Linked DNA regions of Homo sapiens: region 1 is linked to region 2. The links are contacts of gene promoters, found by promoter capture Hi-C in blood cells and fetal thymus (Javierre and others, 2016). All regions are on one chromosome and are shown on one strand. Each heading gives the region's core, a stretch centred on a gene start or on the middle of the fragment in contact. The rest is flanking DNA. Distances are from core to core; before and after follow the strand shown. Region 1 overlaps LOC107985960 (a long non-coding RNA gene). Region 2 holds the start of ITGA6-AS1 (ITGA6 and PDK1 antisense RNA 1).

Evidence for each region. Contacts are between HindIII fragments. The CHiCAGO score rates a contact against its expected background, and 5 or more counts as called.
Region 1: a contact is called between a fragment that was not itself captured here and the fragment with the promoter of ITGA6-AS1 in region 2, in 5 of 17 cell types (megakaryocytes, endothelial precursors, naive CD4 T cells and 2 more). The highest score is 9.5, in megakaryocytes.

The regions. Positions count from the first base shown.
Region 1 is chr2:172,335,909-172,343,230 of GRCh38, forward strand. All of the region lies in intron 4 of LOC107985960 (a long non-coding RNA gene), which reads left to right. Among named protein-coding and RNA genes, the nearest start is that of ITGA6, 88 kb to the right of the region's middle. The HindIII fragment of the contact is 1,660 bases long and covers 3,205-4,864 here.
Region 2 is chr2:172,460,642-172,467,295 of GRCh38, forward strand. ITGA6-AS1 (ITGA6 and PDK1 antisense RNA 1) reads right to left here and starts at 5,381. Exons shown (of 2, transcript NR_157573.1): 1 at 5,183-5,381; 2 at 3,621-3,933. It overlaps ITGA6 (integrin subunit alpha 6), which reads left to right. Exons shown (of 26, transcript NM_000210.4): 2 at 4,898-5,022. PDK1-AS1 (PDK1 and ITGA6 antisense RNA 1) reads right to left here. Exons shown (of 4, transcript NR_199657.1): 4 at 3,625-3,933. RefSeq lists an enhancer at 5,622-5,791. The HindIII fragment of the contact is 13,641 bases long and covers 1-6,654 here.

The DNA.
Region 1 (7,322 bases), core at 2,785-5,284, 130 kb before region 2:
GATTAGCTGGGGCAATACACATGAAACAGCGCCTGGCACAGAGCAAGCTGCAATGATGTTACATAATCTTCTAACAGTCTCCAGATAGGTGCAGTCAGCCTCACAGAAACCAGTCGGTGCTCCATAGGATCCTTGACAAGAAAAAAATGACTTTCATGCTGGTCTGGAAAACAGAATTAAGCTTTTGGGATCAAGAATAAGTGCTAGTCGGGACCAGGCACAGTGGCTGATGCCTGTAATCCCAGCACTTTGGGAGGCTGAGGCAGGCAGATCATGAGGTCAGGAGATCGAGACCATCCTGGCTAACACGGTGAAACTCCGTCTCTACTAAAAATACAAGAAAAATTAGCTGGGTGTGGTGGCAGGCGCCTGTAGTCCCAGCTAGCACAAAAGAAGCTGCTGGCTGCCCAACCAGTTTGTACTTTCCTTGTTAACAGGACCCCTGAGTAGTCCAAGATGCCTTTGCTAGCAGGGCTGGCTAGTGACATCCAAGCAGTAGGGATGGGGGCTTCCAAGACCACTCTTTAAAGGAAGCCTATTCATCTGACAGGGCCGTTTTACAACCAACCTACCACCACAATCCAGGGGTGTGTGTGTGTGTGTGTGTGTGAGCTTTCATCTAAACACAGGGCGGGTTGGTTAATCTTTGAAATCCCAATTAGGAGCCTATCTTCCAGGGCATGGTGAATACATTTGCAGGGCTCTGCTTGGAGTCCACTCTCCAGACATGGCTGAAGACCACCACTTGAATCTTCACATGGTCTGTTAATTAGCATAAGAGATTTTCATGGACAAAATGTGGGTTGGCTACAGATATTGTAAAGGTAAAGGCACCTCTCGCCCTGCATTAATGTGGTATTAGAATGAGATGGCCAGCTTAACCCCCTTTGCAGCGGTGTTGTGGAAGGGGCCTTAGTTGTGTTCTGTGCCCCAACAGATAGCAGAGGATTCAGTCACTAATGCCACTGGAATTTGAACTGACTCTGCTGCTGGAGCTTATATGTTTTTGTGCCTGCTTATTCATAAATGTTGGTATGTGTGGCAGAATTCTGAATGAAATCTGCCTTCATTTTCACACACCTCACAGTGAGGTCATTGGGGAGGGGAACTGTGGCTTTTATAGACCTCTAGCTATTGAAGATGGCCATTATCTGCCAAAAATGAACCTGACAGATGTGAATAGCCAAATTGACTTAGGTCAGTTGTCAGCAGCCTGGCCACCATGTTTGGATGGGCAACTGTCCCACAGTTGTGATTACTTAGAGCAGAAGGGGATATTGGTCTAAGCAGTGGCAATGGGTTCCTTCTCCTGCCAGTTTGGAATTCAGGCTGAGAAATAGGAGTCTCAGGCACTACTTACTGCTGAAGTGGAGGGAATGTAAGCCCACGAGTGATGAGGAGGACATGTGGGTGGCCAGGGAAGAAAGATGGTCTGCCGAGAGAAAAAGAGGGAGTGCACATGCAGGCAGGGATAGAGACCACGGGGCCCCACCAAGAGGGAGGGTGTGAGGGGCGGGAGTGAGGCTGCAGGGAGCTCCCGTGGCTCCTGCTGGCTTTCTGGTTCTAGGTTTTCAGCTCCTTGGGATCATCTGACTGGTCTTCCTGCCCTGAGGTTCCAGGATACACTCCTCTATCCTACAATAAATGACTCCCTGTTATTGATTAAGTCAGTTGTGCCCATCTGAACTCATTCAGGTGACCCTAATGAAGGCAGCACTAAGATCAGAGAGCAGAGGTCACTTGGGGCCAGTTTTGTCAGGTTTAAAGAAGTAAAGACTCTGAAGGTACACAACATAGTCAGCATCCAAGGTAGAAAACATGCACACCTATGGCTTGCTTCATGGGAGAATAAATTAGTGGAAATATGTTTACTAAAGAGAGTAGTTTTGATTATGTATTATATTAGAGTACATAGTTAAGTCATCTACTATGTAAGGTCCCAGCTTTCTTTTCTCTTGATGTAATTAGCTATTAGGTTTATGTTAAGCCTTATTGCTGTTTTGTTTTGCTTTTTAAATCCATCAGCATTTAAAGAAAAGAAAAAGCTGGGCTATAATGGAGAGAACACGAAAGATTAGGCTGTGTTGAGAACACCAGATTCTTACTAAACACCTACTCTGGGCAGCCTGGTATAGTGGAAAGCACTAATTCTGAGCTGAGAGGCCCACGTCAAGTTTTGGTTTAGTCTCTTCCTCAGAGTTCTCAGGCAAATAATTTCATCTTGTTTGGGCTTTTCTAGATTGTCTGTAAAACAAAGGGGCTGGAGTAGATATACTTTAAGATCTCCTGTAGCTCCTAAGGGCTATGATGTAGGATGTGCTGGGCATTATGCTATATTCAGTGGCCAACAGAAAAATGGGGACAATCCCAGGCCCTCATGGAGGTCAATGTTCAGCAGGTAAAATATGCATACAACCTTATTTAGTTTACAAAGAGGCAAAACACTACAGGAAAACATTTAACTTCCTCCAATAATTGTTGACTTAAAATACAAACTTAAATACCTTTGAAATTGGATGCTGAGAGGTTGATCATCTAAGTAAAGAAAGATCATCTAAAATAAAGGTAAGGCAAGGGCCCAAGAATACCTCCTCTTCACAGTTAGGGACCTTAGTTTTCCTTCTTTCTGTATTCCTAAAAATAAATAACCAGATAGAACTCTTTTACTTCCCCCCACCCCAAATCACCACATTTAACTTTTCAAATGGGAGAATCAGCCATTTAATGGAAAATCTGAATTTCGCATGGAGGATGAAACATAATAAAGGGAGAATTAAATCACAAGGCACCGAACAAGTATCTTCTGCCCCCTTACAGAGACTAGGCCCCTTTTTTGTAGAATTCATTTGAAAAATGGGGTAATGTGTGCCTACCCCACTTGCTTATTATCATGAACATTATCTTTAACACAATAGGCAATTTAATTCTGTTAATGATAATTTAATAATTTACAAAAAAAAATTTAATGCACAGGAGCCCTCCTTTATCCCCAATTTTTACATGAAGAAATGAGGCCCAGGGAGGTGAATCAGTTAACGTAAGGCCACACATTTGGTGCCTGGCAGATCCAAGGTTAGAACCATCCGCCTATATAAGCCCAGAAAATCCAGTGGACTCCATGGACTACAGGCAAGCAGATTTCTGGAGAGCACGTGTGAAATCTACATAGTGGGACAAAGCTTATGATTAAACATGGCAGACCTAAGCTTCTGCCTTCCAAAACCCCAACTAAAAATTCTAGTAGAGGAATAAAAAGGTACTAGTGCACAAAACCAGATACCAACTAAAAATTCTAGTAGAGGAATAAAAGGGTACCAGTGCACAAAACCAGATACCCTGGAAGAGGAGCTACACAGATTTTGAATTGGCTCCATGGTGTAGACAGATGGAAAGCAGGTGGAGGGGTGGTGATTGGTTTAGTCTTCAGAGGGCATTCCAAGGAGGAGTGTGCCATACCCACCCCTTTTCCTCCCAGCAGAACCTCAGAAAGGTTGAGGTTCTGGGGCACCAAGTGCTGCAGGAGGCAGGAAGGAGTTTGGCAACTGAATGCAGGGGGCTGCTTAGAAGTCTGGAATTAGATCCCTAAGTGTTCTCCCCGACTGGGCAACCACACAATTCCTCTCCCTCCCCTTCCTCTGCCACCTGCTTGCATAAGGCTGGAAGTTTTTCTCTAGAGATGTGGAACCAAAAAGGCTATGAACATAGCCACATTAGCACAGAGGAGGGCAGGAGTGAGGTTTGGAGCTGGTACTGGGGGAAAGTGAAAGTCAGCACTGACAATGATTGAATGGAGATGATGACCCCAGCTAGCCCCTGCCTCTTTCGCAGCCAGGCAGGCATCCTCTCCAGCCAGAGAGCAGGGATTCTGTCTGCCATGGGGGAACTGAGCTGCAGACAGAAGACCGACTAAAGTCCATTTGGGGCCCTACTCTGAAAAGGCTGCCTCAGTATTAGGTTTCTGTCAGTGAAATTCACCAGCTCACAAGCCTGCCCACGTGTCTCAAAGCAAACCCATGAATCAGAGTTTTGGATCTTCGTCTTCAATAAGAATGGGCATGCGAGGGCCACCTGATTCTGGAGGAAAGACTTCAACATAAAAGAGATCAAAATCATTCAAATGGGAAAAAATACTTAGGAGAAACAAACAATGAAAGGGAACAGAAGTAACCTTTATAAACATACAAAAACTTATTTGATATTGGTAGGGAGATAAGAGAGGGTGCTGTACCCGTGAATCCAGAACAGGATGCTTTAATTCAGAAATCATCAAAGGACAAGAAAGAAAGGTCTTAAAAGCCCTAAAAAAAAAAACACACACACACACACACACAACAACAACAACAACAAACTCCCAGAAAAATGAACAAATGAACAAAAAAACATGGACAACAGGGAAGACATGATAAGAAAATGAAAGGATTGGTCCTGGAGGGCTAACATTCACCTAAGAGGAATTCCAGAAAGACAAAATAAAGAAAATGAAAGTGAAAGAATGGGCAAAGAAATATTACCAGAATATTTCCTGTGGATTTGAAAAGATCCATGCCAGCTTATACCACTTTGGAATTTCAGAAACCGTGAATGAAGAGAAGACCGTAAACATTTCCCTAGACGGATAAAACAGGTTCTGTTCAGAGGAACAGAAAGTAGAAGGGCACAGGATTTCTCAGTAGCAACCCTGCACACCAGAAGGCAAAGGAAGTAAAATGATAGTGCACTCCTGTCCTCAGCATTGAGCAATTATCTAATAATGGAAACACAGAGGATAGATTTAACCAAAAATTATAATTTATCTATATCGAGAGAATAGAGGGAGGCAAAATATGGAGGAAAGTGTAAGAAAGAGTCTCCTAGCCTAATGGGAAGCTTATTGATGTCCCTACTGGATAACTCAATAGCAGCACAAGCATTTTATTTAGAAATTTGAAGGAGAATATAAGAAACAGCTGAAAGGGGACAGGTCAGGGGAGGAAAGCAGGAGACTGGCTTTGTCTGTTCCATGATAAGACTTGGACTTTCTAAATCACTTGCATGGACTACATGATAAGATCCCTGTAAGGACTTTGAAGAAAAGATTCCTTTTTTAAATTCCCTGATCTGATTGCTTCGACTTCTTGGAGGACGCAGACTGACCCTCGCTGTCTTACAACCTCTTCATTAATAGGGGATCTGGGTTCCCCTCTCTTGGGGGTATAGGACTTGTCTCTTGGAACAATGAGAAAAATAAGACTCCGCTGGGGCTTTATGCCTACGCTTACACAGGCAGATAAAATACATGAACTTTGTTCATTGTTCTCATGGGGATATTTACAGAGTTCTTTTCCCTCTTGCTGTTTATCTTTTGGCTGGGGTTCTAAGCGGAATGGACTCAGGTGGTGAGTAACGGCTGAATCTCATTGTTCCCCTCCCTTGGTGACACACCCTGAGCCTGTAACCCAGCAGCAGCTTTCGTGCCATGTCTACTGTCCCGTGGAGTAAAGCTAGTCTTGCCTTTGATGTCCTACTGGTTGTAAGGATTTTTTTTCTTTTTTTCTTTCTTTCTTTCTTTTTTTTTTTTTTTTTTTTTGAGACAGAGTCTCGCTCTGTTGCCCAGGCTGGAGTGCAGTGGTGCAATCTCGACTCACTGCAACCTCTGCTTCCTGGGTTCAAGCGATTCTCCTGCCTCAGCCTCCTGAGTAGCTGGGATTACAGGTACACGCCACCAAGCCCAGCTAATTTTTGTATTTTTAGTAGAGATGGGGTTTTACCATGTTGGTCGGGCTGATCTCGAACTCCTGACCTCGTGATCCACCCACCTCTGCCTCCCAGAGTGCTGAGATTACAGGCGTGAGCTAGTGCGCCTGGCTGATTTTTTTTTTCTTGACATTAACATGAACGTGGGTTTGTAAAAATCAATGCGGGACAAATATATTATGAAGAATGAGAGCTTAGGAGTTAAATGTAATGGAAATAAATCCTTGGAAAAGTTGGAGTGAATGAGTGGGGGAAGCTAGGTTAGGCAATGAACTACTGTGGTTCTCTACTGCTGTTTTGTTTTGGTTTGTGTTTTGGATTCTAAGCTATGAGAATCTTCCAATTTAGATTTTAATAGACCTCTTAGAAGTGCTATAGCTCAAGGAAAAGAAGGATATATTCTGCCGATTCTATCTCTTTGGAGTTTGTGTTCTCAAACCTACAAGCAGTGTCTCCTTCCTGTAAATCACAAATTCCTGCAATGCCTCATAAAAGGGTCATCTTCCTTGGACCTTTTATCTGGTGGGAGCTGTGTGCACCACTGAAGGGGAGGAAAGGAGGATGCTGCCAACAGTGATCAGTGACCTTCGGGAGAAGCAGAGGCCACGGACCTCCCAGCAAAGGAGTGGCCCTCTGCCAGGACACAGGGCTCCCTGCCTTCTGCCTCGGCTTCCTTCTCCTCCCCTTGGTGCTTCCTTTCTTTTCCCATTAGGGCTTGAAGTCCATTTTCACCTGATTAAGGGAAGGAGCCCTCACAGACTGCACCTCCCAGGAATGGCCTAGGCTCCACTCCATGAGCTCCCTCCCTCTCCCTCCTCTGCCACCACCTCCTCCTCCTCCTCCTCCTCCTCCTCCTCCTGCTCTTCCTCCTGCTCCTTCTCCTCTTTTTCCTCCTCCTTTTCTCTCTCTCTCTCTCCCCCTCCCTCCCCCTCCTTTTTATAAGATCTAATAAATACATTTTTCAGTTAACTGCTGAATCCTTTAAGGAAAATAGATGTGTACCTCTATAGTTTTGTTGAGACTAGGGGAGATGGGGAATTTATATTTCCTCAACATGTTTTATTTACAATCCTCCTGGTGCTTGAGAAGAAAAACACATGAAGACTGCCCTTGGATAAGATCTGTGCTGAGTTTAATCAAGTGCACTCCAGTCTAGCTCAGCCTTAAACCAGAGTGTGTGGGAGCAGAACTTGCGGTGAAAGCCACATTTGATTAAGAACACTCATTAACATTTGAAAAGCAAATCCGTGTCTCCACTGGGCTTCTACATGTCTGATTTCAAGAAGCTTATCCAGGCCCTGACTTTCTCTTCCAGAAGACCCCTCTCATGACTGTTTCTGCATCTGCCAACAAAATTAATCGCCCTCATCTCTTGCACACTGACAGTCTAGAAGATTCTAGAAGATGCTGGGTTTTTTTTGGTGTTTACCACAAACAAAAGGCCAATGCTTTCAGCAGCTGCCCAGCCAGAGGGGTTTCGGAGTAAGTTTCAACAAATCCAAGTTGAATTACAGGCCACCTTCTCTCTCTGGGGCTGCCCAGTCTTCTTATCAGTAACCTCAGCTTCTGAGGCCAAGTAGGGTATTTTA
Region 2 (6,654 bases), core at 4,131-6,630:
CTACCGTTAAGTCTTTTATTTTTTGATTTCCTATCATTTGTACTTATTACTTTAGCAAAAATTAAATTCTGAGTTTGAAAATGGGTTAAATGTAAAGGTGACACAATTGCCACATAATGCTACTTTCTAACTTTTTAGGTCTTAATTTGGACAAACTAAGCAGGCTGTGTTTTAAATTAAGCAATAATAGTGTTCTTGTTCTAATGGTGCAATATTTCATGTTTCCTCTGACCAGCTTGCATAGCTAGGGGCAGAATCTTTAATCCTTGAGGAAATGAATTATTGCCAAAGACAGTGAAGCAAAGCTGCCATTGTTCTTGGAGTTTTAAAAGTGTCCCAGTGTTTAGAACTTTTGATTTGAAGTATTTATGCAAAAGTATACCAGCTCTCTTTGGGGGAGAACTTGAATATATGAAACGGATGTGGCTTACTTGAAGAATTTTGAAATAACCTTGTGTTCATAGCATGATAGTGAGTCCTGAGTCTCTGTGCCCAGAGCTCTGATTAGACTCCAAAGACCTGAATTTATATCATATTCCCAGTTACTGTTATACTTATATCGTTAGATTTTTACATTCCATTTTAGTATCTCAGTGTTTATTTCTTATCGTTAAAGATGATTTTGTGGTTTTGAGTTTTGCCTTTTAAGTGTGGGTTTCTGATATGCTGAAATCCCAAGGCAGTTTTTATTTCGGTGCAGCTTTAAAATTCAGTGGAGGTCATTGTCCACTGGCCGGTTTTGAAATGATCTTAGTTCACACCCAGATTCTTGCCCTTTGTTTAGTTTTTCTTGCCTTGACCGCATATGGGAATAGACCTCTCAGGCTCTGCTCTGTTAATTTCTATCACCTCCCTACAAAGGCCCTAACTCATATCCCTTGGTCCCTGTGGCTCTGAAGGTCGAGTTGTCACATAGCTCTTTCCTCCTTCAAACGTACTGGGATGGTCAGTAATGAGTGCTGCAGCTGCCCTGGTCCTAGGAGTTGCTGTGAGCATCCTGGTAGTGCCCAGAGAGTACCTGCTTTTCACACTGAACCATCTGGGTGGCCTGGGCCCAGTTTTTGGCATTTAAGGGCCTTGGAGGGAAAGGGAAGAAAGCTGGAATTTGAGCATAAATTGGATTTTGTGTGGGCTGAGGGTCCTCCTAGGTGTAGACTGTCCCTCCTGGACCTGTACCCACTCTGCTAGCTCAGGAGCCAACCATGTCCTGAACAGCTTAGACCAGCACCCAGACCCTAAATGACCTAGATTAGGAAGTAGATAGGTTGTTCTCTGCTGTCATTGTTTGGACACAGCTCTATTTACCTTATTTATTGTTCCTGCTAGGCACAGCCTCAGCTAATGGGCTGTGATCTCCTGCCTTTAAGGCTGGTTCCAGGCGAATTAAGAGCCTTTGCTTGTTTCCCAAACCAGGGAGGGCAGCTTTACCTTGAGGATGAAGGCGCCTCCAGTTGCTGAATGTGGTTGGGGTTACTGTGTTCTCTCATCAAGGTGTAGCTTTACCTTACCTTTCGGTGATGGGTTCTGCCACCTTATCGCGGTGGGTCCCAGGAGACCGGGCGCAACTGGAGCAGGGGCGCCCTCTGCTGCTGGGTGTCAGCTCTTCCTCCCACGGCTGCCCAGGGGATTTGCAAGGGGCGGTGGAACACTCCTGCTTCCTCCATCCCCTGTGGGACCACCTGAGGTGGAGGAAGGACAGTGCCAGGACCATGTGCAGGCTGAGCTCGCCCAGAGGCGGTGCAACAGCTAACGTTATTCTCTGTGGGTACATTTCTCTTGTCGTTTGCAGGTCTCTTTTCGAATCTGTTGTCCTTTTTCCCCAAACCAGCCTGCTGCCCCCATCCTGCCATGTGGTCTGCTGTCATCTGCAGTAGCCGCCGCATGTAAGACACGAGGACCTCTTCTGCAAGAGCTTGGTGTGGGCATTTGTGAAATTTTGTCACCACAGCCCCTGTAACCAGCCAACAAATTCGAGTTAAATGCCTATTCTTTGTCCCACACGTATTAGTTACAGAGAGTGGAGAACAAGTGGCAGATAGAGGCTGAGGGAAGCCAACCCACTCTGAGGGACTGGGCATGTAAATGGGACAACCTCCACAGCTTTTTAAACCACAGGACACCCAAAAGCAGCTGTACCCTGCAGGACACAGCAGGCTACAGAAGCCTGGGGTTCAGAGGGTCTCTGACCCTTCGTCCTTTAGCGCTGCTGACCAGGCTGCTGATCCTCGACCCCTTCTTGTCACCCATTGTGTCCCTCTTCTCCCTTTTCTCTGGCTCCTTCCCTTGCAGCCTTTGCATATGCTGTGTTCCTTACCTGGCCACCTCCAGTCCCGCTGTCATCTCTTAGTGACATCCTCCCTTCCTCTCCAGCAGGTGCTGGTGCCCACAGCACTCTGTACCATCCTCTCATTGCCTCTAGCTCCCTGTGGTTTCATGACCTCATGACCTGTTCACGGATCAGGCTTCCCCAGGCCAGAGATTGAGGAGTGGGGGCAATTCCTTATTCATCCTAGGAGGCTCTTAATCAGCGTTTGTTGAGTGAATAGGTGAACGAATGTGGGAATGGGATAAACAGGAAATAAGCCCTGTGCCTGCCTTAGGTAACTTAGTAGCCACCTTGGGTGTGGGTGAGAAGAGGAAGTGGTTAGGAAGACACACAGTTAAGACAATGGGACTCCTGTGCTGCTTTTTCTAGGCTTCTCTTTGCTGGTGGTTACCTTTACAGGAAATCTCTTACCCAGCCTTCACTCCACCCAACTGCAATAATGCTTTTCTTCCTTCCCCTCTACTTGGCTCTATTATCTTAACTTTTATCAGCATACAGAACAGTTTTGGTTGTGATGTTTTATTTGTGTAAGTTTTGCCCTTTCAACTAGGTTGTAAACTTGAAATCCTGGGTTTTACTTCCTAAGCAGCTTTGTAAAGAAATGGAGACAACATTGCACCAAGATAATTTTTGTCATGGCCACCCACTAGCTGTGAGATCTTGGGGGATGAGTAATTAAGCTCCTCAAGGCCTCTGTTTCTTTATCTGTAAAACTGGAGGACTGGTCTCTCTCAGGGGCTTCCAGTGTGAAAGTCCTGGGGTTCTGGGCCTCTGATCCTGGCACCCCACTTATCCCTTCCAGCACCCTCCACATGACTCCACCTCTGACATCTGCCAAGTACAGTAATTTAACACATTCACCTTATAGTCTAGGCAGTTCACCTCCCAGGTACTTGTTTGTTGGCATTCCTGGGATCGGGGACATCACTGGAATAGGAGTGGAGCAGACCTGTGGGGACCCTTGTGGCCCCGGCCTTGCCTCTGTCCTCTGTCAAGAAGGTTCAGGCACCAAGGACACTGCTCCAGTTCCTAATTTAAAAGTCTGTGTGTCAGTTCTGTACCTTGGTGTGTGCTGTTTTGTTCCTTCAAATGTAGGGTGGGTTTGGAGGTGGGGGCTGACTGTGACTGTCCAGGGATCTGGGAGGAAGGACAGTGCTGGGGCTATGTGTTATCCATGAGCCACCCCTCCTTCTCTGTCTGGGCATCATCTGGCCCCCCTCCCTGCTTTCCAGGTACACTTGCCTCCGGTGGCACCTGCTGCATGATATTGGTTTAAAAAAAATATGTTGAATCCTTTATTGGAATGATTCCTTTATTGGGACCCAACAGGCATGAAGGTAATAGAGACTATTTGGTTTGTATTTTCATTTGTTTTGCTTTTGCTTCTGAGATTTGTGGGTTTCTTGATGGCCAGGAGTGGCTTGTTTTCTGTTGTAAGAATTTGTTGTTTGTACAGGTTCGTGTTCCCAGTCCTTTTCCTCAGCTCCAGCCTTGTTTCCAAAACTCTCAGCTCTTGGTTTATCTCTGTCCAGTCAGGTGTGTGTTCTTTGTCTTTGTTTCTTGTCCTAGTTGTTCCATGAGTCAGCCAGGCCTCAAAGATTGTAAACCTGATGGTGAGTAAAGGTGTTAGCAAAAGAGACCTAGCAACAAGGTCATTGGATCTCTAAAGAGCCTGTCAAGCTGTGAGATGGTGAAATTTTAAGGACTGTGGATTTGGACTGGGGGCCTCCTTATAGGAGATAAAAACACTCGGCTGGGGAGAAGAAGGAATATTACAGTGCCTAGTACATAAGTGGAGCTACACCAGTTGTCCCTGAATCCTTTGTGGGAGACTGATAGGATGAGAGAGGACGAACTCTTGTAATGTGACAAAAGTGCAAGGAAGTAAGAACTGACTTGGAAGAACAAACATCAACTTGTACACCTCAAATATATCTGCTTTTTATTTGTCCATTCTACCCTAATAAAACTGGAGGGAAAAAAAAAAAAGAATTGGAAAGAGGCCAAGGCTGCAAGTGAATAATTCAGTCGAGTTGTATCTTACTTACCATTAGGTTCTCTCAATTAGTATATAAACTGAAAATCTAAGATATAGTCAGAATTACCCTTGAAAACTACCTCAGGAAGGCACAGTGTTAGAAACTGACATATTATTGCTTATTACATTTAGTGTGGCCATTTTTTCCTTCCATTGTCACAAGTATTTGGTTTCTTCTCTTGAGTTTCATATGATATCCCTGGCATCATAGGGGCTTAGAGGTTGTATTCTTTGAAGAGGGTGTCTTTTAAACACCAGATCATACCCAGCAAGAAATGCTGATACTATGAGAGACAGGCCTATTTTCCTCGTTTTGGTATCCCCTCTTTGGCTTCCCCTGTTTAGTTGTGTTTGTGCGTTTTGCATGAACCAGCCATAGGACTCTACATTTGTTCTCACTCACTGCCTAAGCTGTTGAAGAATTAGTGGACTCCTAGACAAAGAATAATCCCACTATCTCCTAGTTCTGACTGATTTAACTGTTAAACGTATATTAAATTCAAATCTCCAAATTGTCTCTGTTTCATCAACAGGTTGCTCGTGGGGGCCCCGCGGGCAGAAGCGCTTCCACTGCAGAGAGCCAACAGAACGGGAGGGCTGTACAGCTGCGACATCACCGCCCGGGGGCCATGCACGCGGATCGAGTTTGATAACGATGGTGCGTTCCTTTCCCTCACTCAGCGTTCACTCCGGCAGCTTGCCTGTACTGTTTCCATGAGGGAGGAGAGTGGGGACAAACATTTATTCTTGTAGAGAGGACTTCTTTTAATTGCATCAGACTTGACTGTTTTTTATTTGCCCTGAAAATATTTACTTACTTTACTTCTGAATCATACTGGGATGCCGCGTGTTTTGCTGCTCCTCCTAACCGTGGTTTCTAAACCGATATGGTGTAGGGATGTTGCCACCTAGTGATGTGTTGAGGTTCTGCAGGAGGTTGTGGAAAAACTCATTTCATAGCAATGAAGAGAATGAATGAGCGTATCTTGTATTCATCAGCCAAAAGTTCTCACATGCTGTTAAAATATTTGGGAGAAAGACAGTTTTAAATATCAGACCCCTTTGGAATGAGAGCTGGCTAACAGAGATAAAGTTTTCCCTCCTGTCTCAGATAGAGACTTGTTTTGTTAAGGGCTCTGGATAGGTAGAAGATACCATGAGGTAGGCATGTTGACATCCAGTGTACCTGGCTTCTTGTAGGTTGAGCAGAGCAATTAGTGTACTGAGAAGCTCTAGCCAAACCTCGTTTGATATGTTCGGTCTAAGTAGATTTGCAGATTCGTGTCTATGTTCTTCTCTTGCTTCTTCATCTTTTAGAAATAACATTTGTTGGCCAGGCGTCGGTGGCTCACACCTGTAATCCTAGCATTTTGGGAGGCCGAGTTGGGTGGATCATTTGAGGTCAGGAGTTCAAGACCAGCCTGGCCAACATGGTGAAACCCCATCTCTACTAAAAATACAAAAATTAGCCAGGCGTGGTGGTGTACGCCTGTAGTCCTAGCTACTTAGGAGGCTGAGGCGTGAGAATTGTTTGAACCTGGGAGGCAGAGGCTGCAGTGAGCCAAAATCGTGCCACTACACTCCAGCCTGGGTGACAGAGCAAGATACCATCTCAAGAAAAGAAATAACATGTGTTCTTTTATTAGAAACTAATATGTGTTAATTTTAAGAAGCTGGTAAAATACACAGACCTATGAAGAATAAAAAAACCCACTGGCAATCTCAGTATCTAGACTTATTTTTTAACATTTTGGCATTTTTCCTTCTGTCTAAAGTTGTTTAATGTTTTTGTAATGATTCAAGATTAAAACCTGTGTCTGTATTGCTACTTATGGAGGAGTGCAAAATTTGGATATAGGTCACACAGTGGGTTTAAATTGATACTGAAATGAGCACCTGGTGGTGTTTGTGGTCCCCGTCTCTCTGACTAACAGTAACTCTCCTGTTTGGCATTGATACATTGTCAGCTACAAGATCCTAAAGTAAATCTGAGTCTTTTTCTTCCATCTCCAGTAAAGAAGAGAACATTTAATGCTGTTAAATAAAAAAATTGGGGAGTATATAGAGAAGTACCCATTTTTTTTGTTAGTTTGGATGGTAGCTGCAGTTTGGAATACTAGATTTTACATTGTTGCCTTAAGAGATGTATTTTGGAGGGCTCCCTTAGTCTTACAGTTTCACTTACCTTCTGCATTCAGGACCCTAGGTATCAAGAGAGGGCAAAGGGTATTGTTGGACAAAATAGGCAACTATATAGAGCTAAGTACTTTATGTTTCAAATGTTTGAAAG